Regions from separate parts of the Homo sapiens genome. Here all the other regions are linked to region 5. Evidence: promoter capture Hi-C in 16 types of primary human blood cells and fetal thymus (Javierre and others, 2016). All regions are on one chromosome and are shown on one strand. The core of a region is centred on a gene start or on the middle of the fragment in contact, and the rest is flanking DNA. Distances in the headings are between cores, read along the strand shown. Region 1 overlaps DYM (dymeclin). Region 2 overlaps DYM (dymeclin). Region 3 overlaps CTIF (cap binding complex dependent translation initiation factor). Region 4 overlaps CTIF (cap binding complex dependent translation initiation factor). Region 5 holds the start of SMAD7 (SMAD family member 7). Region 6 overlaps CTIF (cap binding complex dependent translation initiation factor). Region 7 overlaps CTIF (cap binding complex dependent translation initiation factor).

Region 1 (3,667 bases), core at 615-3,114, 230 kb after region 5:
GAAATGAGAAAGTAGCCTATGGTAAACTCCACATTAAGGAACTTAAAGAAAATTGATAAATGATTGTAAATTTTAACCTTGCACAATTTAACATGATAAACTTGATACCTGGGGCACTACAGCTAGCATCATATAATATTTATGGATACCAATGATTTTTCAACTGAAAGATAAAATAACCTCATTTTTGATGTTATGCAGAAAGGAATATAGGCTAATTCAGACACATTTGTATTTAAACACCCACTCCTCCATTTAATAGCTCATGGGATTTCTGACACTTAATTTTTCTGAGACTCAGTTTCCTTATACTTGGTGATAATGATGGTGGCAGTTAAGAGTTGCTGTGATGGTTAAATTGAGGGAATTAATGTAAAAACCCTTAAGAGAGAACCTATGGAAAAAGTCACCATTCAGTTCCAATTGATTTCTGGCATGGAGGACTGTGGGCTCTGCATTGCCAGCTATTCCAACTTGTTATATGTTAGCAACAAATTCTAACTTCAAAAAACCAAAACCAAACAAACAAAAAAAACTGTGCAAACCAAACACAGCACCTCTCTAGCCTGAGTCCAGGCTGCAGGCCGTTAGTATGCAGTTTCTGATTTGGAGAATCACTGGAAATACCACGTCATGAAATGCAGCAAACCATCTAGAGTCAAGGTCGTGTTGGAGTTAGATGGGTATTTTAAACAAAAGAGATGTGCTCTGGTAAGAAAAAGTCAAGGATAAAAGTTAAGATGATTTATGAGAGAAACCCAAAGCAAAATGAATGTTTCCGTGGAACAGCATGATTTTGAGATCACTCAGAACTATATTTATATGCCAATGAAAAAATCTTTAATTTTTACATAAATGCATTTTAATTTAATCCTTGATCCCCCAGTAAAGAGAACATGTTATTCTGTTTTACGAGACACAAACCAGCTGGTTTATAATAGAATTGTCCAGAGTCCCCACAATACAGGTTGAATTTCCTTCATCTGAAATGCTTGGAACCAGAAGTGTTTTTAATTTTGAATTCCTGCAAATTTTGGAATATTGGCATGATACTTACCAGGTGAACATACCAAATCCAAAAATTTGAAATCCAAAATGCTCCAGTGAATGTTTCCTTTGAGTATTATGTCGGTGCTCAAAACGTTCTGAATTTTGGAGCATTTTGGATTTTTAGATTAGGGATACCTAATCTGTGTAACCATCATATGTTCAAGATACAGCCCAAAATTACTCCACATACAATCTTGGCCAAAGGTTTATCATTTTTGTTGATCTTCTCAAGGAATGAGCTTTTGGTTTTAATTTTATCTACTGCATTTGTTTTCTATATCAGTGATTCCTGCTTTTTATTATTTTTATTTTATTTTGGGCTTAATTTGTTGTTCTTTTTCTAGTTTCTTAAGGTGAAAGCTGAAGTCACTGATTTGAGATCTTTCTTTCTTTCCAATATAGGCATTTCAGGCTATACCTTCCCCTTAAAATACTGCTTTAGTGGCAGCCATCCCACAACATTTGATATGTTCCATTTTCATTTTCACTTAGTTTAAAAATCGCTTTTGGTTTCTTCTTTGATTCATGGATTATTTAGAAGTATGTTATTTAATTTCCAAATATATGGGGATTTTCCAGAAAGTTATCCATTATTGATATCTATTATAATTCCATTGTTGTCAGAAAACAAACTTTCCATGACTTGAATCTTATAACCTGAATCTTACTGAGACTTGTTTGATGGCATAGAATATGGTCTTTGTTGGCAAATGTTCCTATGCAAATGTTTTGGCTGGAGCTGTTATTGGTTGGAGTGTTCTATAAATGTCAACGAGGTGAAGTTGTTTGATAGCATTAAGTCTTCCACACTCTTACTCATTTTCTGTCTACTTTTTCTATTAGTTAATAACAAAGATATATTGAAAGCTCCAACTATAACTGTAATTTGTTTCTCCTTGCAATTTTATTAGTTTTTGCTTCAAATGTGTATGTTATAAAGTACACATTTAGGATTATAATAGTCCTCTTGATACACTGATTCCTTCATTGTTATGAAATAATTTTCTTTATTCTGGTGATGTTTCCTCTCTGAAGTCACTTTGCCTGATAAGTCCCTCCTGCTTTCTTTTGCTGGTGTTAGTGATATGGTTGCATTTATATCTATCCTTTTGCTATAGTTTTCCATTTGTCCTATTGATTCTTTTTTTCCCCTTTTTCCATTTTTCTGCCTTCTTTTGGGTTGAGTATTTTTATGATTCTATTTGTTGGCTTATTAGCTATAATTCTGAACAGTGGTCTGGGAACTCTCAATACTCACAGGGCTCCCCTCAATTGCTAACATCTCTCAGGGATTTGTTTCTTTTGTTGCCTGATGCCCAGTGTCTCCAAAGTCCCTGTTCTATATACTGTGTCTGTTTTGGTTGTTGTTTCAGGCAGAAGGGTAAATCCAGTCTCTGTTACTCTATCTTGGTTGGAAGTGAATAGTGATTTTTGAACATCTGTGTGAAGAAAACCCCACAGTTTTAGATATTTTACGTAGAAACTTAAGGAACACTGGAGAAAACCAAAGATTTTTAATGTAATGTTTTTCCTTACTTGAAGTGGTGATTGCACATTTTTTTTCCATCTCTGATAACCACAGTATTTTAAATTTCACTGTGATTTTTTAAATACAACACTACGTATTTGAGGGGAAATTTTATTCACCTAATCCCACTAATTAAGTGATTTGTATCACTGTATTTTATTTGCACAACTAGTCTCTTATTGTAGATTGTAAATGCCAGTCATTGATAGTCTTTTAAAACTTATCCTTCATTGTGAAAATCAACATATTAGGTACTTGCTACTTTTCCAGAAAACGTTGTGGCACCATCAGGAAGGACAAACACCACAAGGCAGTCCTGCACTTCTAAATTTGTGCCCATCACTCTTTACTTCACTCCACATCAGTCCGCTCATCATTCCTGCACACTCCATTCTGTTCCTCCGTTAACTGCTTGGCCTACACTCACTTCCCTCCCCTATACAAACCTGCCTGGCAATTTTCGATTCACCCTTCAAAATGTAGCTTAGAAAAATATTTACCACATTTTCAAGTTAATTATATACATTTTATTTCACTAAATATTAAGTTCTTGAGCCTGGGATAGTTCACTTCTGCCTCTTTGATGCCTAGCGTAGTGCCTGTACATTTAACAGGGTCTCAAAAAATGTTTATTTAATTGAACTGAACTCAGAAATAATTTGGGATGCACAGTGTTAGGGACTGAATGTATGTGTCTCCCCCAAATTTCCTATGTTGAAGCCCTAACCTCTAGTATCGCTGTATTTGGAATAAGGAAATAATTAAGGTTAATGAGGTCATAAGGGTGAGGCTCTGACCCAAAAGGATTAGTGTCTCCATACAAAGAGACACCACAGATCTCTCTCTCTGTGCACGTACTAAGAAGAGGCCTTGTGAACACGCAGTGAGAAGGCAGCCATCTGCAGCCCAAGGGGAGGGCCCTCACCAGACCCCACTAGACCCCACCCTACTGGCACTTTGATCTTGGACTTCCAGTTTCTACAACAGTGAGAAAATAAACTTCTGTTGTTTAAGCCACTCAGTCTATGGTATTTTGTTATGAGCCTGAGCTGACTAATATACATAGGGATGTGTTTAAGATGAGGCAGT
Region 2 (4,197 bases), core at 1,094-3,593, 250 kb after region 5:
GGTGTGTGAGAGGAACCATAATATTAACATAACAATGTTTTGGATAAAGGAAAACTTGTCTGAGGAAGTGAAAAATGTAAGAAAATATGGAGAAGGAAAAAGACAGGAAAGAACATGCAAAAAGTCCTGAGATAGAAAAGGGGTGAGCAACTCCTGGAAGAGAAAGCACAATTGATATGGCTAGAGAATGTAGCATCCTAAGGGCAAAGAAAAGTCACTAAAGGGTTGAGCAAGGAAGATACATGTAACTTAGAATCTATGAAGATGCTTGCTGGATCGGGAATTAGGGGTGAGGGTGGGGTGACAGAACTTGAGGAAAAGGACTAGGTAGGAGTCCAGGTGTGTGATAAGGACTGTCTGAGCTAGGGTGACTGGCAGTGGTAACAGAGAAAAAAAAGTAGAGATTTGATTTATATTTTGGATAGAGAACTGAAATGGATGTAGTGAGGATGAATACAGCAGGTGAGGGGAAAATGCTGATGACTCTTAGATGGTGGGCAGAAGCAACTTGACGGATACAGGCACCATTCATGGAGATGAAAAGGTTTATGGAGAAAGCTTAAGAGTTCTCTTGGGAGATGGGACATGTGAGGTATGAGTGTTGATGTTAACAGTAAGGCAGCTCTCAGGACAGGACAAGGGCTCAGAGTTTCAGCTGGACTATCAATTTGGAACATATTGGCATGTGGATGTCATGTAAAGTCATAGAAATTGATGAAAATGGCTAAGGTAAGAGTTTAAGTACAGAAAAGGGCTTTAGGAACAAGCTTTTTAAAAGTTCTAATGTTTAAAACCAAAAAGCATAAAAAAAATGGCAAAAGGGGGGGAAGAAAGCCAGGAGTATGCTGTCACAGAAGCCAAAAGAGGGTGGGGCTGTACTACCTAGTTCATCTGTTGAGGTCAAGTAAAGAAGGCGGTGAAGTTTCTCAAAATGTGCCTTCTACTCTCCCCTAGAATGCATGTAAACAATTCACTCCCATGGTTCTTGAAAAAAAGAAAAACCCCAAACCAGAAACATACTAAGTTAGAAGAACAATTTTTAAAAATTTATCTATTATAGCCAAATCATGAGTGAACTCCCATTCACAATTGCTTCAAAGAGAGTAAAATACCTAGGAATCCAACTTACAAGGGACGTGAAGGACCTCTTCAAGGAGAACTACAAACCACTGCTCAATGAAATAAAAGAGGATACAAACAAATGGGAGAATATTCCATGCTCATGGGTAGGAAGAATCAATATCATGAAACTGGCCATACTGCCCAAGGTAATTTAAAGATTCAATGCCATCCCCATCAAGCTACCAATGACCTTCTTCACAGAATTGGAAAAAACTACTTTAAAGTTCATATGGAACCAAAAAAGAGCCCGCATCGCCAAGTCAATCCTAAGCCAAGAGAACAAAGCTGGAGGCATCACGCTACTTGACTTCAAACTGTACTACAAGGCTACAGTAACCAAAACAGCATGGTACTGGTACCAAAACAGAGATATAGACCAATGGAACAGAACAGAGCCCTCAGAAATAGTGCCACACATCTACAACCATCTGATCTTTGACAAACCTGACAAAAACAAGAAATGGGGAAAGGATTCCCTATTTAATAAATGGTGCTGGGAAAACTGGCTAGCCATATGGAGAAAACTGAAACTGGATCCCTTCCTTACACCTTATACAAAAATTAATTCAAGATGGATTAAAGACTTAGATGTTAGACCTAAAACCATAAAAACCCTAGAAGAAAACCTAGGCAATACCATTCAGGACATAGGCATGGGCAAGGACTTCATGTCTAAAACACCAAAAACAATGGCAACAAAAGCCAAAATTGACAAATGGGATCTAATTCAACTAAAGAGCTTCTGCACAGCAAAAGAAACTACCATCAGAGTGAACAGGCAACCTACAGAATGGGAGAAAATTTTTGCCATCTACCCATCTGACAAGGGGCTAATATCCAAAATCTACAAAGAACTCAAACAAATTTACAAGAAAAAAACAACCCCATCAAAAAGTGGGTGAAGAACATGAACAGACACTTCTCAAAAGAAGACATTTATGCAGCCAAAAGACACATGAAAAAATGCTCATCATCACTGGCCATCAGAGAAATGCAAATCAAAACCACAATGAGATACCATCTCACACCAGTTAGAATGGCAATCATTAAAAAGTCAGGAAACAACAGGTGCTGGAGAGGATGTGGAGAAATAGGAACACTTTTACACTGTTGGTGGGACTGTAAACTAGTTTAACCATTGTGGAAGTCGGTGTGGCGATTCCTCAGGGATCTAGAACTAGAAATACCATTTGACCCAGCCATCCCATTACTGGGTATATACCCAAAGGATTATAAATGATGCTGCTATAAAGACACATGCACACGTATGTTTATTGCAGCACTATTCACAATAGCAAAGACTTGGAACCAAGCCAAATGTCCAACAATGATAGACTGGATTAAGAAAATGTGGCACATATACACCATGGAATACTATGTGGCCATAAAAAAGGATGAGTTAATGTCCTTTGTAGGGACATGGATGAAGCTGGAAACCATCACTCTCAGCAAACTATCACAAGGACAAAAAACCAAACACCACATGTTCTCACTCATAGGTGGGAAATGAACAATGAGAACACTTGGACACAGGAAGGGGAACATCACACACCAGGGCCTGTTGTGGGGTGGGGGGAGAAAGGAGGGATAGCATTAGGAGATATACCTAATGTAAATGACAAGTTAATGGGTGCAGCACACCAACATGGCACATGTATACATATGTAACAAACCTGCACGTTGTGCCCATGTACCCTAAAACTTAAAGTATAATTAAATAAAAAAATTTATCTATTACATTTTCTTACCAACTTTTCTGATCTGAATTTACTTGTCCTATTTTGACTTATACTGCACTGACTAACGCTGTAAATCTTTAAGACTGAATACCACATTATGGAAAATAGAATAGGCTTGATGACAGGATCAAGTAATGAATATGTAATTCAAAAGGAAACCATAATGGTTTAAGTGGGATAATACATTTCATTTCATGCCACAGAAGTGGCACAGAAATCAATAAAGCACAGCCACAACAGAATTATTACGACAGTATCATATGCATGAAAAATTATTACTATAGCTTCAAGTATTTATTCATTACAGATTAAGTGAATAGCATATTATATGACAAGACCATTCCAGCAATTTTTAAAACTTGTTTTGAGGAAACTCATTAGAGCTTTGTCTTAGATTTAGACTGAAGATGCAATCCTTTGAAAGTAATAAAATGGCACCAGATGTGATTTTTTTTAAAGCACAGTATAAAAGACATGACAAATGGGTAAAAGTATTCCTAAATTTGAAAGTGCTACAGTTGAGATATAAAAATGATTTCATATTACACGTACTTAGAATTATAAATCCATTCAGTTAAAAAGAAAAGAAAAAAAAAGAAGAAAAAAAGCAAATCTATGAAAGTTCTAAAATAAACCATGGGAGAAATTCTCTGTGATCATACTGAGGAACTCCTATCTAATCCTGTAAACCACCGCAGTTCTTTGCCAATTAATAAAGTGGCATTGCATTATGTTAGTAGAGGGAAAAAAGGAAAGAAAATCCAAAGACATACATGTAACTTAGGGGTGGTTGGGAGGAGGGTAGAGAAAAGTGAGAGAAAAAATTTATTTAAATTTGCATAATTTTTTTAATTTGTAAAAGATAAATTTTAAATAATTTTAAAAAGAAATGTCATGTACATTTTACTATTGTTCCACAGCTATTTTTATACATTATCTGGTTTTTGGACACATACATAATTTTTATGTAGTTGTTTTAATAGCAGTATATAATTTTATATTTTTTTCATTAAACATTATATCAAATATAACTACTAAAAATAGAAAATAGCAGTATAGAAGCTTATATTCTTTTTTCATAAACATTATGTCAAATGTTTTCCATATTTCTACTTATTTTTCTTTATAATATTTTAATGGCTGTATGATATTCCATTGAGTTGATAGGATATAGTTTATTTGACCATTCTTCTATTTTGTTCCTAAATATAACCCTTTCTTTAGGTTAAGTTCTTCCCTTAAGATAAATTCCAATATATTAACATTTTAATGACTTTTGGTAAATACTTCTAGCATATTTCTTTATAGAATCCACTATCTTCATTACTAAATTTTT
Region 3 (3,831 bases), core at 1,317-3,816, 160 kb before region 5:
GTCCTGATTGTCTCTCCTGGGGGTGACATGGGCAGGATCTCAGCGGGAGGTGAGGCTGGGGCCAGGCACTTCTTCTCCCTGTAAAACACTGCTCAGGGAGAGCAGCTTTGCTGACCTTGAGCTGGGACCCCCCCTTTCAGAGTCTCCCAGTGATAATCCCCATGGGGACAATTGGATGGCCGACCCTCTCTAGCCTTTAGGCTGGGGGGAGAAGAAACCTGAATTTGGGGTTTTTGTCTCTTTCCCAGAAGAGGGGTAGGAAAGAATCAGTAACAGCAATAGCCTGAGCTGGAAACATGCTCAGGGGCCAGTGCGTCCCAGCTTTGAGTATAGAGCTTCATTCTGAGCACTTCCCACATAAAACACAATTGGGGTGCCCCAAGGAGGGGCAGACACCAACATTTCAGGCCAGAATTCCAGACACTTGACTCCTAGGAGAGCTTTGGGTAAGCTGTCTCTTCCTCCCTAGCCTTGGTTTCCTCACCTGTAAATAAGTGGCCTGAAGCCACTGAGGGCCTTTTAGTGCCAGCAGTGAATCCTGTGACTGTGTTCCTCCTATCTCCCTGTATCCCAGGGCCACACCACCTGAAGCATTTTTCCCCTGCCTGGCCACATACCTGCCCCCGGAGGCCTTGTTACTAAGAAGGGCTCATGGAGCTGGAGGAGGTCAGGGGAGCAGTGGGAACAGCCAGAGGCACAGTGGCAGCCTTTGAAGATAAGATTCCTAAGTCTGGGAAATACAGAGGTGTGGCTGTAATAGGAACAGGACACAGACCCTCTCACCATCACAGGGAAACTCAAGGGTCTCCCTTGGGGAGGTCACTACAGAAAAAATGAGAAGAAGCACTTGTACTTCTGTACAGGGTGGGTGTGAACTCATCACCGGCCCAGAGGTGTAGGTAGGCCAACAGTGGACACGGATGCTAGAAAGGTACTATGACATCAGAGTGAGCATGACTGAGTCTGGTTAACGATGGCCAAAACTGTCCCATTCCCACCATCCAATAGCACACCTCTTAGGCCTGGGAGACCCTGGGCAGACTCAGGAGGACGTGTGCTGTGCTGAGCCTGAAGAAGGTGGCAAAGAGCAGGTGTGTGCACGTAGGTCCCTCAGCACCCATGGGACATGTTCCTGGACTGCAAGCCTCATCTTCCTTTAGTACAGTCACTCTAGGCCTCTGAACCATTGCTTCCTTGGCAGGAAGTACCAAATCACAGAGAAGCCTCAAATCATTTTCTTCGGGTTTAGGGAAAGTCACTGATTTTCATTTTCCTATAACATGATGACAATAAGGGCTGGGTTCACATCCCAGCTTTGTCACAGACTAGTTGTGTAACCTTGAATGGGTTTCTTACTCTCTCCAAGCCTCAGTTTCCTCACTGGTAAGATGAGGATGGTAATAATGATTGGGTTGGATTGCTGGGGATTAAATGAGATAATGTAGTAAAGGGCATAATACAACCCTGGCCCTCAATAAGTGCTCATAATGTTGGCTATGGTTCAATTGGACTTTGCTTGGGATAATAGTGAAAGGAATTTTAATTTCAGTTTGATTCATCAGGTGTGCACTAATATTATAGGTCTAGCCCTGTCTGAAACTCTAGGGAGATACAGTCAAGTGTAGATCAGTGACATACCATATTCATGGACTAGAATACTCAGTATTGGTATGATGTCACTTCTTCCTAAATTGGTCTCTAGAGTCAACAGTCTCAAATCAAGATGCCATTAAGCCTTTTGGGCAGAAATTGGCAAGCTGATTCTAAAATATATATGGAAACTCAAACCTACAATATCCAAAGGAATCTTGAAAAAAGAACAAAATTAGAAGTATAAATTAAGGGCTTTGTTTTTTTGCTCTCAGGAACCTTAAGACTAGTGGGGAAGACTAATAAGAGACCCCATGCTGCTTCCTAGGAATGTAGGGTACTGGTGAAGAGTATAGATGCTAGAGCCTGGCCCCTGGCTTTGAATGCTGGCTTTGCCACCTGCTACCTCATGACCTTGGGCAGGGTACTTTTCCCCTCTCTATGTCCTAGGTGTCTCATCTATAAAATGGGATGATCACAGCTTCATTGCCATGGGGCCATTGTGAAGATGAAAGGAGCTAACCCATGTTAGCCTAAGGCTGCCTACTAGGTGTTGGGGAAGGGATGGAAGTAGAATGAGGACAGAGGTTCCGCCCCCAGTACCGTATGTCCTTTGGAGAAGGAAAGCCTAGAAGCTGAACCACCTTTCCAAAAAGGGAAATTCTGGAATAAGGATCTCAGGCTCTGTGAGTACAGCCACCTCCTTTTCTAAGACCCAGACTGGGGAAATAGCTCATCCAGGGTCACTTGGCTGAAGGTTAAATACAGAGGAAGTGTCCAACAGGCAGGGAGTGTGAGCAAAGGTCCATGGCAAGGAGTTACAGCGGTGCTTCTTGGGCCATGGGAGAAGGCTGTTTCTGGAGTGCCGAGTTCGAGGGGGCATGGGGCTAAGGGACAGCCAGCAGGCATGAGTCACCAAGGGGCAGGCTGCCAAATCCAACAGGACGCCCCATGGAGCCCTTTGGCCTGGGCCCAGCTCAGCAGCCCCCTCCCCATCCCCCGGACACACGTACCCCACCAGGCCTGGAGACATTTCCTGAAAGACTAAGAAAGCACTGGGAGCTGGACGGGCGGCCTCAACGGCCAGAGGCTTGAGGCCAGGTCTCTCATGGAGGAGCAGACGAAGGGAGGACGTGACCGGCAGCCTTCATTCTCACAGGCCAGGGATTTCAGAGGAACGCGGCCAAGTCTAGCTCTGAAGTTCCCACTTCAGACCCCGCCCGGCTGGAGCCACGGGCGCCTGCAGTCGCCACCCTGGAAATCAGAGAGGCACGTCATAGGCCACCTCGTGCTGGGGAACACGTCCTCCTGGGGCCTCTGTCAGCTGGCTCACCTGCTGGGGTTCCCGGATAGCCCTTCTCCTTCTGCTGGGCCATGGACCCTCCTCTAGCCAGCTTCCCCCAATCCCTGCTCTCCCTCAGCCCCCAAACCTGTCCACCTTCTCACTCCATCTTCTCAGGAGAGTCCTGGCACCCAGAACAGACCTCCTAGGAATGTCATGTCTCTGTCTTTGAGGTCATGAGCAGACCTGGGGCAGGAAGGGGAGGCCCTGTACAAGCCCTACACTGTGGCTCAGGCCCAGAGAGGGGTTGACACCAGGCCAAAGGAGGGACACATGTCCACAGATAGCTCCCAGGCCTCCTGCATGCTGGCTGGTCAGACCATGAGAGCCACACTGGACAGGTGAGGAAACTGAGGCCCAAGAGGAAATGTGATTTGCCCAAGGCCCTATAGCAAGATAGAGGCAGAGCAGAATGGAAGACCTAAGGCTCCCAAGCCCTGAGCCCCAAGCTCTTTTAAGTCATTTTCATGGTTTCACTTCATTTTCTTTTTTCATTTCCTTCCTTCTTTAAGAGAAAGGCAGGCTCTGGATAGACAGGCAGGGACACAGGCAGGGCTACCAGAAACTCAGAGGAAAGAAGAGAGTGGCCCAGGGTTGGGCAGCCTCTACCCCCAGCCCCCAAGCTGAGTGGAAGCCCCTCCCTCCCACCCAGCCTCAGCCTGGCCCTGGGGGCTCCCCTTAGTGGGAGCTACCAGTTTGTGGACACAGGAATGTGCCTGTGGCTTGCCCAGAGACCCTGAGGGCCAGCACCTCAATCACAGCATCTCCTTGCCCCAAGCAGCCTGCCCCGTCTCAACCGTAGCTTTTATCACCTTCCTCCATGCCTCTCTAGTGAGTGTCTTCCCTGAGTCAGCAGAACCTGTTCATAGTCATCCCTTCTCCCAGATTAATCTCTCTCT
Region 4 (3,726 bases), core at 464-2,963, 200 kb before region 5:
TCAAACCCAGGCTCTGCTTGGTGCAAGTTGTGTGTCCTTGGGCAAGTTTCTTACCCTTTCTGTGCCTTGAAGACCTCTCTGGAAAATGGAGTGAACAATAGTTCCTCTCTTGGGGTTGAACGAAAGCCATGCCTGGCTTACTGTAACTGCTTCCTACATGCTAGCTATGAACCATTCTTCTGCATCCCTGTGATGTGAGTTTGAGTCCTGTGGCCTCAGGACCACCCTCAGAGTGTGTGAACTGCCCGAGTCCAGGGCCTGCGTTTGGTTTATGCTCCAATATGGCTGTCTTGACTTTCTCAATAGCTTTTGAACCAGGGGCCCACATTTTCATCTTGCACTGGGTTCCGCTCATTATGTGGCCAGTCCTGCCTCCAGGCCAGAGTAGAACATAGGCCTGTGCTGCTCTCTGCTTCCTTTCCTTCGTGATTCTTGTCCTGGGATAAAGCTAGAGACCTGTTTCTGTAACTAATAGATTCACATCTGTCTCTCCAAATGGACCCTCAGCTTCATGAAGGCAGCAGCCCTGTGCGCTGGAGTCATCGCTACCTCCCCTCCCCAGACCACAAGGAAGATAGAGAGAAGGTTCTGCCTCATCTGAAGGAAGTGGATGCTTTGGGAGCAGTTCAGAGGCACACACAAGACACTCTGGTGGCAGAGACGTGGGTGTGATGTAGGGCATTCCAGACTGTAATCATATCAGGAGTCTGGAGGGCTCGGGCAGGACCCTGGGAGCTGGGGAAGGCTCCTGCTCAGGTCTGGACCTTAAGACCTGGATAGGATTAGGGGAGTGCTGAAGGACTCTGTAGGGACAGCTGAACAGCTTTGTCACACAAACACCCTGCCTCCACCCCAACTTCTCTCAGAGGGCTGCAGGAGCTATGTGGCCTCAGGCAAACCCACTGACATCTCTGATTAACCTCTGGGCAGAACAGAGTCTCAGCATGTGTTTAATTAATGAAACAATAATGAACCAGCCTTTCTCTGCATCATTTATTATTCATTCATTCATTCATTCATTCATTCATTCATTCATTCTACAGTTAGTGAGAAAAGTCTTTGCCTGTAGGGTGCAGAGGTACCAATCAGACCTTTCATCTATTCCAGAGCATCGTTTGGCGAGGTAAACATCTGATTTCTAAAGCTTTTAGTCCATGCAGTGAGCTACCACACTTCTTACATGAACTTTTGCCTAGGCTGGCAAAGACCTCAATCTTGAATTGTTTTCTACCCAACTCTGAGCAAAGAGAGCCACAAAATCTATTGGAGTGGGGGAGTCTGCAGCTTGGCTGGCCGCCCACGGTGGCAGGAGTGTTTCTGATGCATGCTGGCCCTCTCCTCTCAGCGTTGTTAGGAGGGAGTGCTCAGGAAGTAGCTGGCCCAGTGCTGCTGTTGCCGCCATCATGATAATGATGGCTCTGGCAATTACAGGGCCCGTGTGTTGCCTAAGCTTTGTAGCGATGCCCCCAGTTCTCCAAAGAGCACTGAGATCTCCAATAAGTAATTGTTAAATCCAGTCATATGGCGTGTTACAGCAAAAACACAAATCTGAGTTCCAGTGAGGGCTTTGCCACTAACTAGCGGGGCGACCCTAGAAGGACAAAGCAACCTCTCTGGACCTTGGTTTTCTCATCCGTCATGCTGTGACTCATGTAATCCTTACAACTGCCCCTCAGGTGGGGACTGGCACATCTGGAAACAGAGACACAGAGAGGTGAGATCACCCAGCCCATGCAACTGTGAGTGGCACAGTGCCAGGCTCTGTGCAGGCTGCCATACCCCAGACAGACCTGGCAAGGAGTGTCCTGCGGGGGACACCCATCATCCGAATCAGCCCTGCGCGCACCATGGGTGCTCCGTTAGTATAGGTCACTGTGATCCTTGTCTCTGAGTGTTCATCAGCCAATACCATGATGTCCCTTGGTTGACTCCCTCATGAGGGAAGAAAACCTCCCCTCCCTTATACTTTTCCTTTTTAAGCTTCCCCATCATTCTGCAAACTGGGGTGGGTGTGTGTGGCGACTTTTGTTCCTGGGTCCTATATGCCATCGCTCGACTAAGCAGCCCCTGAGCTGCAGAGAAATTGTTGGTGCCTGTGCCTCCGAGCCTCACCGCAACCCTTGCGTTGTCCCAGGTGACTGGGCCAGGGCAGGCAGAGCTCACTCAGGGCATGTGTAGGTGGGCAGGAGTGGAGGTGCCTACGCTGGTAATAAGCAGTCATCACTTTTCCTGAAGGCAAGAAATATGAGCCCATGCATAGTTTTAAAACCACTTGCCCTAGGAATTTTGCTTTCAGAAATTTTTAAGCAGACCTACAAATTATGTGGTAAAATGTCCGACATGGAGAGAACCATAATAAGTCAGTGGCACTCAGAATATCTAGTTGGGAACGATTATGAAATAAAAAACGAACAGAGGGACATTTGTCTCCATTTGGACTGCTGTTAAAACCATTTTTTTAAACAAAATTTGAAGTTATTCTCCCTACACCCACCTCCCAAAATGCAGCTGTGGTGTTCCGAGAACATTTTTGTCTTTTTGTATAAAAGAGAGCAGTCTTAGAGTAAAACAAGACATCTGATTTCAGAACCCAAAGAATAAAGAATAAACTAAATGAACGATGGAAAAAGCATAAACCGACAATTTCCATTCTCCAAAAAAAAAAAGCATTATTTTCCTAACAGCAGGTGTTGCCAGTAGCACAAATGGAATATTAATCTTATCTCCTGTGCTGTTCTTCCTCACCCGAAGAAGACTTCCCCAGAAATAAAGAGGCAGAGAGTTGGGTTTTTGCCCTTCTTACTTGCAGGGCTGCAAAACTGGGTGTCCAGTATGTTTCCCAACCCAGGACCCACATGTCCATGTGTCTGAGACCAAGTGCAGCCTCCTTGCCGGGTTGCTGGGAGCAAAAGCGGCTCATCCCTGGCCCAGCCAAACCCCAAACCCGCAGGTTTCGTGGGGAGCAGCCAGCTGGCCCCTGAATGAAGGTATCGACGAAACCCAGCGCCAGCAAATACAGAAGAGAGAGGAGCTGGTTTTGGCTGGCCCAGCCAACGACCGCTGACAAATATTTGTGAATGGCCAGAGCAGGGAAGCCTAGGTCTCCATTGCTGGGGAACGAGGCCTAACTCCAAGTCTGTTCCAGTGCCCTTAGCAGCCCTCTTGGCTCCTTCTCAGGCAAAGAATTTGGACCTCATGCAGTTATCACCACCGAGGTCTCAGTGGCCATTCAGCCCTTTGTCTCCATTACTACAGGTCACTGCGGTCCTTGTCCCTGAGTGTTCATCAGCCAAGGAGGCTGTGTCTAAAGGCGAATGGGAGACAGATGGGAGGTGGCTGCAAGGTGCTGTGATTAGTTGACAGGCTTAGCTCACTCCTGGAGCCCCTGGCAGGCCCTCTGCTGTAGGAGTGCACCTCACGGAGCCTCGGTTGTCTTATCTGTCGAATGGAAAGAAAGGTTCTTGGCCTGCCTGCACACAGAGGCCAGTCCCAGCAATCACTCACCCTGAGAACTAAGCAAGGCCTTGTGCAGGAAGAAGGAAAAGGGAGGACAGAGGGACAGTCTTAGTGCCTCTTCCTCCAGTGGCATCTGGGTTCTTCCCTGCCCTCCCAGGGCTCACCCAGCTGATTCCATCTGCCATTTAGCTCCATATCAAGACCTCCTTATTTTGAACCTGTTAGTCTTTCCTACCCAATTAGGAGGGAACACTTGAGGTGGACTCCCTG
Region 5 (3,837 bases), core at 1,078-3,577:
GCTCCTCCACGTCTGCGGCCGCAGCCGCCGCGCTCGGCTGGCCCGGCTGGAAACCACCGGCTCGGCCGGAGCCGCGCACTTCACAGTTCACAGGGCGGGGGGCGACCATGCCCCCTCCCCGTCCTCGGACTCCAGACCCAGCTCCCAGCAACCTCGGCTCCCCGCCCCGGCCCGCCCCCCAGGCGTGCAATTCACCTCTGCCCCCGCCGGTCCGCTCGGCACTCGCGCGGGGGACACGGGGCTGCCCATTCCTAGCGCACTCGGGAGATGCATCCCAAGCGTGCTGGGGAACGTGGGGGATCTGCGGGCGCCCGGGGTGAACCCTCACATCACACTCTGTGTACAGAGACGTAGAGTAAAGGAAGGAATGGAGAAAGCTGAGAGGATAAAAGGAAAGGAGTTTCAGGGTCTCAGCCGAGAAGCCCAGGCCCCAGCGCAGTAAGAGGCGACAACGTCACTGAGGCGCCGGGGCCCCACTAATCTACAGACTTATCTGTGCGGAAGGAAGGAAAAAGTAGGGGACACCCAACTTCTCCTGCCTGTTTGTTCCTCTGCACCCTGGGGCTGGCAGAGTTGAAAGGAGACAGATACCCAGTTCGGCCTTCCATCCAACTCTCTTTGCCCCAAAACTCCAAAGGTGCGCGGCCACGACAGTATCTGGGCCACTGGTGTTCGACGTGATTCTCCGTATTTACTAAAGGAGTAAATACGGAGACCTTCCAGCCTTTATAGCACGCCTCTCCCAGCCTTCCTTGGCGGGCCTGGACCAAATCCAACTCGGCCACACACCTCAACGTCTTTCCGGGTGCGGGGAGGCGTGACCCCCCCACCTCCCTCTGCACCCCCTTGTTGATCCGGAAATGAAGGCGTCTAATTTTTAACCGCAGACTGCAGGAGCAGTGCCCGTAGACCCCTTCGGGGCAACACAGGAGAAAACCTGGAAGGGAACCCCCAGGGAATGCCCTTTGAGTTTCCCCTTGTCCCTTCTCTACTTTCAGCCCCCAGTCTCTTCCCAGGAGGGTATGCACACTCTCCCAGGAGGGTATGCACACTCTCCCAGGAGGGTATGCACACTCCCCCTGGAGGGATGGCTGCACAAACGCACTGCCCTAGGGGCTTTTCTTCCAGCACTGGCGCTCCGGAAAATGTTGGGGGTAGGGGGACAACTTCTCACCTAGTTCGCAGAGTCGGCTAAGGTGATGGGGGTTGCAGCACACCAGCTCGGGGTTGATCTTCCCGTAAGATTCACAGCAACACAGCCTCTTGACTTCCGAGGAATGCCTGAGATCCGGCCACCTGAACACTTTGCACAGCAGGAGGGGGAGCGAGTAGGACGAGGGCGGCTGCGCAGGCTGCGCGCCGGCGGGCGCCCCCGGGCCCAGCCTGCAGTCCAGGCGGCCGGGCAGCAGGAGGCACGCGGTGCGCGTCCCGCCGCGGGACTCCACGGCCTGGAGCAGCAGCTCCAGCTGCCGCTCCTTCAGTTTCTTGAGCACCGAGTGCGTGAGCGCCTTCAGATCCGCCTCGGCGCCCCCGGCCGCGCCGGCGCCCGCGGCTGGCGGGTGGGGATGGTGGTGACCTTTGGCACCTCGCACCGCCTTGCCCAGGCAGCATCCAGCCCTGCCCGGGCCGCCGCCACCGGCCCCATGCGCTCGGCTGTCCGTCGCCCCTTCTCCCCGCAGCTCGCCTCCTCCTCCACCTCCCCCTGCGCCCTCCTCCTCGTCCTCGCCGCCGGGCGCACGGCTCCTCCAGAGACGCCGGACGAGCGCAGATCGTTTGGTCCTGAACATGCGGGGCGAGGAGGCGAGGAGAAAAGTCGTTTGCCTGCTAAGGAGCGAACATGACCTCCGCACACCATGAAGAAGTCGGGCGCCGAGTTGGGGCAGCAGGCGCAGGCGACAGCAGCAGCAGCAGGGGCCCGGGCAGGAGCGGCGGCGGCCCGAGGGGCGCTCCGTGGCATGCGCCAGTCTCCCGGAGGCCGGGGCGCGCGCGGGGGCCCGGGGGCGCCCGCCGGGGATCGGGGGCCTGCGCTCCGGCTGCCCCACCCCGCGCGGCCCGCGCCCTGCGCGGCTCTCCGGCCCCGGCGCGCCCCGGAGGAACCCGGCCGCCGCTTCCCTGGGGACGGCCGAGCCTGCCCCCGTCGGCGCCTCCCCAAAAAGAGGCCCCCCCGCAGTGGCTCCCGAATGTCGGGCTCGCCAGCCTCGGCTTCCTACATGGAAGGTCCGCGGGGGCAAAAAACGAAAGGCGTTCGGCTGGGCTGTTGGAAGAAGGAAAAAGCCTCTTTCCCCCTTGCTAAGCAACTTAATTTGGGGGTGGGGAGAAGCAGGCAATTAAAAAAAAAAAAGCAAGCGATTTATTTTTTTCCTCTATATCCTTAGTAACCGGATCTCCTCGAATTCCGCGCACACGAAGACTCAGGGGAGGGGGCCGAGTGGACTTCACCCCGCATGAGACGTCTGGCAAAATAAGAAGGCTCTCGCAAAACCTAACAACCAAATATGCAAAGCCCCAAATGAAAACCACCACCTCCTCGAACCTCAGAGGTCTGGGGGCGTCCGGCTGGAACTGGGGTTTAAAAAAAGAAAATGTTTACAAAGTATAACAAGATGTTTGATGGGTGGAAAAATGTATCCACGAGTTACATCCCCCCGTTTCCTTGCAAAGCCCCGCTGGTCTTCCTCTCCTTTTCTTCTGCCAAAAAAAAAAAAAAAAATCGTGTATTTTTTTAATCCACAGAAAGCTTTGGCTAGACCGCTTCAATCCTGCGCATCTGGGTGGTTTAGGGGAGTCTCTGGTCTTTCCCCCTGCGCTCCTGGGGGCCCAGGTCCTCGGCGGGGACTTCCTCGAGGCTGGCGCGGGCGCAGGGGCAGAAGATGCTGCGGCGGCGGCTGAGCCCGGCGGGGCTGACAGCGCGGGGGAGGGTGGCGCGGCGGCGGCGGAGGGCCCCAGACGGGTCGCGCGTTCTCGCCCCCCCCGGGCACAAGCTGCTTGCTAGTGCAGGGGCCGCCGATGTCCCTTCCCCTGGCCGCGGCTGGCCGCCGAGGCTCCCCGCATGGGCTGCTCGCCTCGACCCAGCTGCGGCGGCAGGAGGCCCCGGTGTCCTCTCGGCGCCTCCTCCTCCGAGACTCTCCTCGTCGCGCCCGGGAGCCTCCTTGTCCCCGGTCCGCCCTCTCCTGGCGCTCCGGTCCTTCTGCCGCCGCCAGGGGCTCGCCGCGCCGCACTCAGGGGCTCAGGGGCCGGGCGCTCGGCGGCTCGGCGCCGACGGACTGGCTCTGTCTCGGGCAGCTCTCTCCCGCGCGGCGAGCGGACCGAGCACGGCGCCCGGCTGGCTCGGCTGGCGCGGCTCGGGGACAGGATCTTCCGTGCGCCGAGCAGCAAGCGAGTGTGCCCGGGGCTCACCGCCTCCCGCAAGGCCTCCCGCCCCCGCCCCCTTCCCTCCCCCTTCCTCCCCCTTCCCTCCCCCGCCCCCAGCCGCCGCAGCCGCGCCGCCTCCTCCCCGCCCCCCCGCACCCCCCCTCCGGCCCTCTGCTCGGCTGGTTCCACTGCGCAGTGGCGCGCCCGGCTCCGGCCTCGTCACGTGGCCGTCTAGACACCCTGTCGCTTTAAAAAAAAAAAAAAAGCGATTGTGTTTCGCAAACAACAGATCGGGTTTCTAAAAGCTATTTCTCCCCCCAACCCCCCGCCACCGCCACCCCCTCCCGGGTCTGTAGAGGGGGTACCGATGGAGGGGAGAGAGATAGGTGGGGGGCAGAGAAGCTCCCAGAATGGATTGAGCCCCGGCCGGAGCCATGGAGAAATTGGAAAAGCAGGGAGCACCGAGCGGGCTTCGCCGCGAGTTTT
Region 6 (4,301 bases), core at 489-2,988, 230 kb before region 5:
GGGCCCTTGGCGGATTGGATGGTGCCCATCCACACTGGGAGAGAGATCTTTACTCAGTCTACTGACTGAAAATGTCCTCATAGACACACCTAGAAATAATGTCTTACCAGCTAACTGGGCACCCCCTAGCCCAGTCAGGTTGACATGAAATTAACCCTTATATCTGTTCTCCAGGATTCCTCAGACATGGTCAGGGGCCATTTATGACCTCATGTAAAGATTTCTTTTACTCCAATCAATATCAATATCGCCCCATTCCCGAGGCATGAAGGTGAGCACTCAGAGCACCCATTGCTCTCCGTGGAGTCTTCCAGGCCCTCAGCGTCTGACAGATGCGGCAACTGCAGCTGCCTTTTCTGGGCTGGTACCTGTTCTCTTGCAGAAGGCAAACTTGGAGTGGGAGAGGTCTGCTTTCTTTTTGCCACCTCTTAATTCTACGCTGTCTGCCCCATCAGTAGCCTCATGTGTCCCTCTGACTTCTCACTCTCAATACGAAAATATGCTTCTAGAATTGTCTTTAATATTTTTAAGCCCCATTCCTTGACACTGCTGTGGCTTCTGTATCCCAGGCTTTGATGGTCATCTGTGACTACAGGAGGCCCCACATTCCTTTTCACATGTGGGCTCATGGGCAAGGACTCTGGGGGATACCAAGTGCCTCTCGACATCCCTCTCTTTAAGTCACAGCTGCTATCTGGAACTTGCTGCTCCTTTTAGCACCTCAGAACACTCTACCAGTCATAGAGTCCCACATCCTACAAAAATGACCAGGTCCCCCAGATCTTGCCCACCGGGAACTGATGAGGAATTAACCTAGTCGGAGTCCTATATCTATACATCAGCTCATTCACATGAGTTGTTAAGATAGCTCTTTTGGAAGTGCAGTCCATCCTTATTACTCATTGATTCATATTTGCACATTCGCCTACTTGTAAAACTTATTTGTAACACCGCACTCAATACTCATGGTGTTTTTGCAGTCAGTCATTGACACACAAACAGTGAAAAATTTGAGTTGCCTGACCTGCAAGATCCCAGTCCAGGCCAAAGTAACACTCTGCCTCCTTGTTTCAGCTCTCATAGTATAAGCAAGCACCCTTCTCATGGTTCTGTTTACTGCCATGTTTTTCACATTTTTGTGCTTTTCCTTGGTGAATTTGCTATTTTAAATGGCTCCTAAACATAGTACTGAAGTGCCGTCTACTGTTCTTAAGCGCAAGGAGGCTGTGATGTGCCTTCCGGAGAAAATGTGTGTGTTAGATAAGCATCACTCAGGCATGAGTTATAGTGCTGTTGGCCGTGAGTTCAATGTTAATAAATCAACAATATGTATTAAATAAGGTTTCTTTAAACAGAAACACATACAAAACGAGGTTATGTATTGATCCAGTGGTGAAAATGTTGTGACCAGAGGCTTGCAGGAACCAAACCCCGCATTTCCCCTAGGAGTAATAGTTCAGTATTCACTAATTCAGTATTTGCAGCAACTTTATGGAATGCAACTACCATAAATAATGAGAAGTGACCGTACTTGCTCTTTAAAACAGAGTAGAGAGATGCTGAAGATAAAGAAGTATGTTGTAGGCAACAGGATCTTAGGTCTGAGTGATTTATCTTGTTCGTGTGTGGTGGTAGCTTCGCTAGGGGATGAGATGGGGACGGGGGGGATGCTTCTTCCAGTGGTCATTGTCCTGCATGGTTTGACTGAGCCTATCACTGCTTCATTTGCACCATGCTGGGATGCCACTGTTGCTGAGGCCCTCGCAGACAGCTCAGCCCTGCAGTGACTGTCATTGCCATCCTGTCATCCGAGCCCAGGGACCGCGAGACAGATCTATGCTCACTTTGCCCACGGTTTGTCTTTCCATCCCAGCAAGGAAATTGCCCTCATTAAGTCCCTGCTAAAGATAGATAAGAAAATGGGACAGGCAAACCCCCACCTGGCAGGCAGCCCTGTCAGATTCTAAGCAAAATGAGTCAGATAAGAATTATTTTTAGGATCCTTCTCCTCCTCCCTCACGCCCACCCCCAAGCAGGCTCTCTCTTGAAAAGAAGAGCAGCTCATTTCTTCAAGCCAGATGTCCAGGTCCATGCTTGATTGAAATGGAGCCCCTGATACACCCAGAGAAAGCCCCACGCTTTGTACAAATCATGATGGTCCCAATAATCCTTTGCACAGTGCAGCTGCCTCAGGCCGCACTCCTGGGCAGAACAAGCTGCAGAGAGTGGCCCTGTTGAGGCTGGCCCACAACTCACCCATGAGGGATATACCTTCCCCCGATCCCCATGCTCAGGACTTCCTCCCAGCATCACACTTCATGGGAATACAAGGCTCTGGGGGTTCTCTCCCATCGGGACCCACATCCACGCGGGGGACAAATGGGTAAGAAAAGAGGTTGCCTACAGCTCATTTTGGCAGAGCCCTGGAACCCCCTGTGCCCACCAGGCAGTGGGCATCCCCTAGTTCTGTGCCCACAGTTGGAGAGCAGAGTACTACTCTTTCTCGATCACAATAATCCCCTTTTCCCCAGCAATTAGAATTCCTTCAGACCCCTTAAGCCCTAAATAGCAAAGGGAGACCCAATGACAAGAAAGGTGACTGAAGAGGACGTAGGGGCACATGTCTAGTTACCTGCAGGACAGGAGGGCTGCTCCCTGAGAAACTGGCCCTGGAGAGATAAATGCCATTTCCCCAAGGTCTGCGTCTAGGATGGGACGTAGAATGGACGCCTTGGGAACCAGCCACCCAAGCTGGTTTCATTCCTCCTCAGAGGTCTAGTCTCTACTGAAATGCTAGGCATTTGAGGATTGGCTCACAAACACTAACACCCAACCCTTCATTCCTCTCCGGAGCCCCAAGCAACCTGGCCTCTGGCACCAAGCCAGCCCAGCCCTCCCCGGGGACAGTGTGTCTGGTGGGCAGCCCAGGCCCAGGGCGAGGCTCACTGGCTTCAAGACGAGCTCATCTCTCACCAGCCAGGGGATCTTGGGCCCTGGACAAACCATTCTTCTTATGTCCCCAAGGACACCATTGTGCAGACTACAGGGATGCCATTAGATGCCATGTGATGGCAGATACGAGGGAAGTCCTGACCCTGTGTGCGGCTCTGAGTCTAACCTCAGAGAACGTGCATCCCCCCCTCTCTGTCCTGACACTCACTCCTGTGCAGGAAGAAAAGAACACTGGACCAGAAGTCATGGAATCTGGATTTTCATACTTGTGGTGTGGTTCAGAGCAATTCTCTTACACTTTAAGGGTACACAGTTTCTCAGCTATAAAATAGGGCTCTGATTTCAGCTCTACAATGTATTAGAGAGAGTGCGAGGTGAAGATGAAAAGGGACACTTCTCAGGGATATTCCATTCCTTAACCATGGGATGGGAAAGACAGTTCTGAAAGACATGTTGGAGGCTGGCCAGGGCTTTCAGTGCAAATAACCAGTGTCTCGTGTATCTTCAGCTCAGCCCATGTGCCCTGTCCAGAAGGTTCTAGAAAGGCAGCCATGCCTGCTGCCCCTGTGTATATTTTTCCTTCCCCAGATCTGGCACACAGTCATACTAGGCTAAGCCTCATACTCCTGGCCCTGTGCTTTTTTTTTTTTTTTTTTTTTTTTGTGAGACAGGATCTCACTCTGTTGTCCAGGCTGGAGTTGCAGTGGCACAATTATAGCTCACGACAGCCTCGACCTGCTGGGCTCAAGTGATCCTCCCACCTCAGCCTCCCAAGTAACTGGGACCACAGGCACGTGCCACCACACTTGGCTAAATTTTTTATTTTTTATTTTATAGAGACAGGGTTTTGCCATGTTGCCTAAGCTGGTCTTGAACCCCTGGCCTCAAGCAATCCTCTCACCTCAGCCTCCCACAGTGCTAGGATTAAGGGCATGAGCCACAGCACCCAGCCTCTCTGTCCTCTTGAGATCGTATGCTGCCCAGGACCGCAAGATTCACAGGTGTAAGTACCCAGCCATACCTGTTGGTGCTCACAGGTGTAAGCACCCGGCCGTACTCATCGGCACTCACAGGTGTAAGCACCCGGCCGTACCCATCAGCGCTCACAGGTGTAAGCACCCAGCCGTACCCATCAGCGCTCACAGGTGTAAGCACCCGGCCGTACCCATCAGCGCTCACAGGTGTAAGCACACGGCTGTGCCCATCGGCGCTCACAGGTGTAAGCACCCGGCCATACCCATCGGCGCTCATAGGTGTAAGCACTTGGCTGTACTCATTGATGTAGCAGGCTGTGCATCCCACTGGTTCTGAGGGTCTTTTTCGCTAGACTCCCAGGCAAGCCTGGCCCA
Region 7 (3,975 bases), core at 581-3,080, 180 kb before region 5:
CCCCAGGCTTATACATGGGGAAAGTGGCTCAGTGAGGCTGCAAGATTGACCCAGCATCACGAGGCTAGCTGGAGCTTCTGGATGCCATGCCACATCCTAAATAGGGTGTAAGGCTCAAAAACTTGGGAAAATCAAGAATCCATATCATGGTTGGGAGCAATGGCTCATGCCTGTAATCCCAGCACTTTGCAAGGCCAAGGCAGGAGGATTGCTTGAGGCCAGGAGTTTGAGACCAGCCTGGGCAACATAAAAAGACCCCATCTTTGAAAAAAAAAATAGGCAGGTGTGGCAGCATTGCTACTGAAGCCCCAGCTACTCCAGAGGCTGAGGCAGGAGGATCCATTCAGGCCAGGAGTCAAGGCTGCAGAGAGCTAGGTCCCTGCTGTTGCGCTCCAGTGTGAGCGACAGAGTGAGACTCTAAAAAACAAAAAAGAATCCATCTCAGGAAGTCATCAATTGGGATTTCAAAATCCACCCTGTGGAATAATCCCACTGTGTTTCCAGGGGTCGCTGAGTCTCTGAGCTTTCTGGGCCTCTGGAGGTCAAGGGTACCTGAAGAAACCCCTGCACTCTCCATTCGCCCTAGTCCCTGTGAAACCACACAGGCTGCTGGCCCCAGTTCCCATCTCCTCCTTGCATCCTCTCCCTCTTCTCAGACCCCCTCCCTCATTTCTGCACACCCACCGCTGAGCCGATGTGCACTCCAGGCATGTAAACTAATTTTAATGTTGGCCCAAGCCAGGCACACCCAGGGATAGAAGCACATTGTTCTGTGCATTCCAAAGCTTGAGCAAAAGCCCTGGCCATACCCACATCGAGCTCCCCTCCACTAGTTGCTAGAAATCAGAAAGGCTGAAGCAAAGGGCCAGAGGCAGTGCAAGCCGCTTTCCCCGTGGGCAGGCTGCACGGAAGCTTGCAAAAGCCCAGAAAAGGGCTGTTTTTCTAAAAATGGCTGGCATCTGAGCTCCCGCCCTGCCCCCTGTGGGCCATCTGTCCCCATGCTGAAGCCCGTGCCCTGCAAGGGACATGCAGAGTTGGCACACACATTTCCCTGAAGGTGGGCACCAACAGGCCTCGTCAGGCTGGCCTGGCATCACAGGAGGCCAGCAGTCACAGGAGCTTGACCCCTGCCCAGGATTCTGTGGCAGCCCTGGGCTCCCCCAACAGGAAGAGCCAATGCCTGACTCCTATCCATGTTCTTTGCCCCTGCGGCCAGAGCCACAGTGGATAGGAGCCGTGTGCCTCGTTGCCAATCTTGTTGTCTGCACTTGCTTTGGGATGAGTAAATATGACCTGCTTTTCTCCAATCTTTATTTCTTCTCAACGCTTATTGAGCACCTGCTATATACCATGCACTGTGGCAGGTCCTGTATGTCTCTGTTCATTTGCCCTCCACTGTGGTCTTTCAATCTGTTTGTGCAAATCTTAAGCATTGCATTCAAGGACCCAGGTGGGATACCTCAATGTCAGTGCTTAGACCAGATCGCCCTGACTGTTCAGTTTGGGTGGGGCGGGGGAACATGTGGCTTCCAGGAGTGCTAAGCCTGTGGTTCTCTCTGGAGCTTTGAAGTGCTCAGTGAGACAGAGCAGCCGATGACCGGATCATAAACAAGCATTTTGATTTTTGAATCTGAAAATAAGCGAGGAAAGAAAATGACCACTGATCCTCAGCCAGTCCTGGAAAGTGCCCAGAACAGCAGCATGCCAGGTGTCCAGTCATCATATCATCAGGGGGGCCTGGGTGCTGCTGCTGTGCCAACTACTGCCCCAGGCCCCCAGGGACCAGTGAGCTTCCTGCAAAACCAAGTGCCCAGCTTCCTGCCTCTTTGCCACTGCGCCACTGTGCCACTGCGCCACTGCGCCACTACTGTGTTCTTCAAAATCACAGAGAGCCCCGCTCCTGAGAAAGCCCAAAGTGCCTTTCTGTGCACGGCATGGGCTTTTACAAGTCTCATGGGCAGTCTACTGCAGGCCTTGTCAGAGACTCTAGATGTGCAGAGGCTGAGGGAGCCTTGGACAAAAGTCACTCCTTTCCCGTGAAAAGTGGCCATTGCCCTGTGTTGTTAGGAGCGTGGGTGGCTCAGGAGGGGAGAGCAAGACCAGCCTGCAGCTTCATGAATCAGGTCAGCTGGGCCATCTGGAGCAGACAGGTGTGGGTCGTGCCCCCGAATCTCATTTCTCTAGACAGGATTTCTTGCCCTGAGGCAGCAACGCTGAGGCCTGAGGAGTAGCAAACCTGTGCAGTAGCATCGATTGCTGCCTCGATGCTGATCTTGAGCATTTAAAACATGTCTCTGCACCCACGTTTCCGTCCTGCAAGGGATGATTGGGTTGTGGTAGAGCTTAAATGAGGTAATGCATGCACGGACCCCAGCTCTGAGCCACACCACTCGGATGGCTCCATCAGTGTGGGTGCCCTGCCCTGGTGGGATGAACTGGGAGGCCCTTCTAACTTTATCCCATCCTAGATTCCCAAAGACCACCCCATGCCTCAGTCTTGGGCAGCATTTCCATTTCCCCCCCCTACGCTGATTAAATGTGGAACAATGAGGGCAGGCAATGAGTGCTTTTAGACTATTGTCTTCCTGGGCGGTGGGCCCAGGATTGACAGGTGTACTCTTCCTCCTAGTCAAATCTGCCTCCTCCAGGAAACCTTCCCTGATCTCCCAGCCCAGGGACCTCACCTTCCTCTGACTCTTGAACATTTACCATGTGTCCCTTTCATGAAGTCTTCTGGGCTCCCCTGTTTAAGCTTTTCTTATCTGAGACTTGTATCTGTGGATGTCTTGGGGCAAAGAATGCGTCTGGGTCATCTTTGTGTCCCACCACCATACTGGTACCCACAAGGTATTCATCAGGCATCAGCTGGCTGGCTCCAGGAGCTTCCTTCACTGGGGAGGAAGGAGCATGGATAGGCAGGCATGGGAATAGCACAGGCCACAGCCACAAAAGGGAATGGCCTGGGGTTTTCTCCCTCTCGCTTCTGGGCCAGGAGAGCTTTACCCAGGTCAGGAATTATTTCACCATCACCCGTGTCCCTTGCCAGACCGTGTCCCCTTCCCTGCATGCCCTCACCCCCCACCCAGGGTTCATTTTCCCTGCTAAATCCCCTGATAGAACTTGGCCGGGCACTGCCCTGTCTGAGGCTGCCACGCCGAAGCAGGCCCTGCAGATAAGTGGGTTACCGGAGAAGGCCAGCTCGGGTGTCCCAGGCCCCAGAGGGTCACCCCTGGCTGGCTGGCAGCTCACCCCCAGCACCTCCTCCTCCTCCTTCCCCGGAGCCAGGCAGGCAGGAGACAGCAGATCCTTCCCCCCAGCTCTGTGAGCGGCCGGCCCCCAGCCGCCGCGGGGAATCTGAGCTATGCTAAGCGGCTCCAGATCGCAGCATCTCTGCCCTGCCCGGGCACGGCCGGCCCAGACAGGGCGCCTCTACCTGCCGTGGCTGCCGCTGGAAAGCTGGCACCGCCTGGGCTGATGGAAAAAATCTCCCTGCGGGTTATGTAACTGCTCACCGCCCTGTCCCTGGCTCCCCAGGGAGGCTCCCAGCCACTACCAAGAGAGAGCAGTGGCCCCTGGGCAGGAAGGAGACCACAGAGGGTCACTCTTTCAAAAGGAAGAAAATAGTGTTGCGTTATCTGAGGTCCTCCTCTGGAACCAGCCTGTGCATGGCGCCAAGGTGTTTCCTGAAAATGCTTAAGGAGCTCAGAGGCCTGCCCCAGTATTATAGCAAGAAGAGAGCTAAACCTAGCGGGAGGGAGTGGCCACAGAGGAGGAAGAGGGCAGGACAGCTTTGTTACTGTTTTTCTTTTCTTTTCTTTTTGGCAAATTATTATTGCAGTAAAATATACCATAAAATTCACCATCTGAACTAGTTTTAAGTGCACAGTTCAGCAGTACCCCGCATACCTACAATGTTGGACAATGCCCATGACCATCCCCCGGCACCCCACCAAACCCTCTCATCACCCCAAACAA

Evidence for each region. Contacts are between HindIII fragments. The CHiCAGO score rates a contact against its expected background, and 5 or more counts as called.
Region 1: a fragment that was not itself captured here is called in contact with the fragment with the promoter of SMAD7 in region 5 in 3 of 17 cell types (M1 macrophages, M2 macrophages and endothelial precursors); the score reaches 6.4 in M1 macrophages.
Region 2: a fragment that was not itself captured here is called in contact with the fragment with the promoter of SMAD7 in region 5 in 1 of 17 cell types (M1 macrophages); the score reaches 5.0 in M1 macrophages.
Region 3: a fragment that was not itself captured here is called in contact with the fragment with the promoter of SMAD7 in region 5 in 11 of 17 cell types (naive CD8 T cells, total CD8 T cells, M1 macrophages and 8 more); the score reaches 10.1 in naive CD8 T cells.
Region 4: a contact is called between a fragment that was not itself captured here and the fragment with the promoter of SMAD7 in region 5, in 1 of 17 cell types (M1 macrophages). The highest score is 5.1, in M1 macrophages.
Region 6: a contact is called between a fragment that was not itself captured here and the fragment with the promoter of SMAD7 in region 5, in 2 of 17 cell types (M2 macrophages and M1 macrophages). The highest score is 8.6, in M2 macrophages.
Region 7: a fragment that was not itself captured here is called in contact with the fragment with the promoter of SMAD7 in region 5 in 13 of 17 cell types (M1 macrophages, M0 macrophages, M2 macrophages and 10 more); the score reaches 8.6 in M1 macrophages.

What each region holds. Positions count from the first base shown.
Region 1 is chr18:49,180,480-49,184,146 of GRCh38, forward strand. The region is part of intron 14 of DYM (dymeclin); the gene reads right to left. Among named protein-coding and RNA genes, the nearest start is that of MIR4744, 130 kb to the left of the region's middle. The HindIII fragment of the contact is 6,459 bases long and covers 1-3,667 here.
Region 2 is chr18:49,196,542-49,200,738 of GRCh38, forward strand. All of the region lies in intron 14 of DYM (dymeclin), which reads right to left. Among named protein-coding and RNA genes, the nearest start is that of MIR4744, 150 kb to the left of the region's middle. The HindIII fragment of the contact is 3,156 bases long and covers 766-3,921 here.
Region 3 is chr18:48,787,949-48,791,779 of GRCh38, forward strand. The region is part of intron 9 of CTIF (cap binding complex dependent translation initiation factor); the gene reads left to right. Among named protein-coding and RNA genes, the nearest start is that of CTIF-AS1, 52 kb to the right of the region's middle. The HindIII fragment of the contact is 9,280 bases long and covers 1-3,831 here.
Region 4 is chr18:48,750,947-48,754,672 of GRCh38, forward strand. The region is part of intron 7 of CTIF (cap binding complex dependent translation initiation factor); the gene reads left to right. Among named protein-coding and RNA genes, the nearest start is that of MIR4743, 82 kb to the left of the region's middle. The HindIII fragment of the contact is 530 bases long and covers 1,449-1,978 here.
Region 5 is chr18:48,948,638-48,952,474 of GRCh38, forward strand. SMAD7 (SMAD family member 7) reads right to left here and starts at 2,328. Exons shown (of 4, transcript NM_005904.4): 1 at 1,175-2,328. The coding sequence starts at 1,787. RefSeq lists an enhancer at 1-159 and silencers at 26-225, 1,266-1,585, 2,802-3,501. The HindIII fragment of the contact is 3,263 bases long and covers 1-2,735 here.
Region 6 is chr18:48,718,617-48,722,917 of GRCh38, forward strand. All of the region lies in intron 7 of CTIF (cap binding complex dependent translation initiation factor), which reads left to right. Among named protein-coding and RNA genes, the nearest start is that of MIR4743, 50 kb to the left of the region's middle. The HindIII fragment of the contact is 9,652 bases long and covers 1-4,301 here.
Region 7 is chr18:48,768,480-48,772,454 of GRCh38, forward strand. All of the region lies in intron 9 of CTIF (cap binding complex dependent translation initiation factor), which reads left to right. LOC107985147 (a long non-coding RNA gene) reads left to right here. Exons shown (of 2, transcript XR_001753444.2): 1 at 1-3,975. Among named protein-coding and RNA genes, the nearest start is that of CTIF-AS1, 71 kb to the right of the region's middle. The HindIII fragment of the contact is 1,840 bases long and covers 911-2,750 here.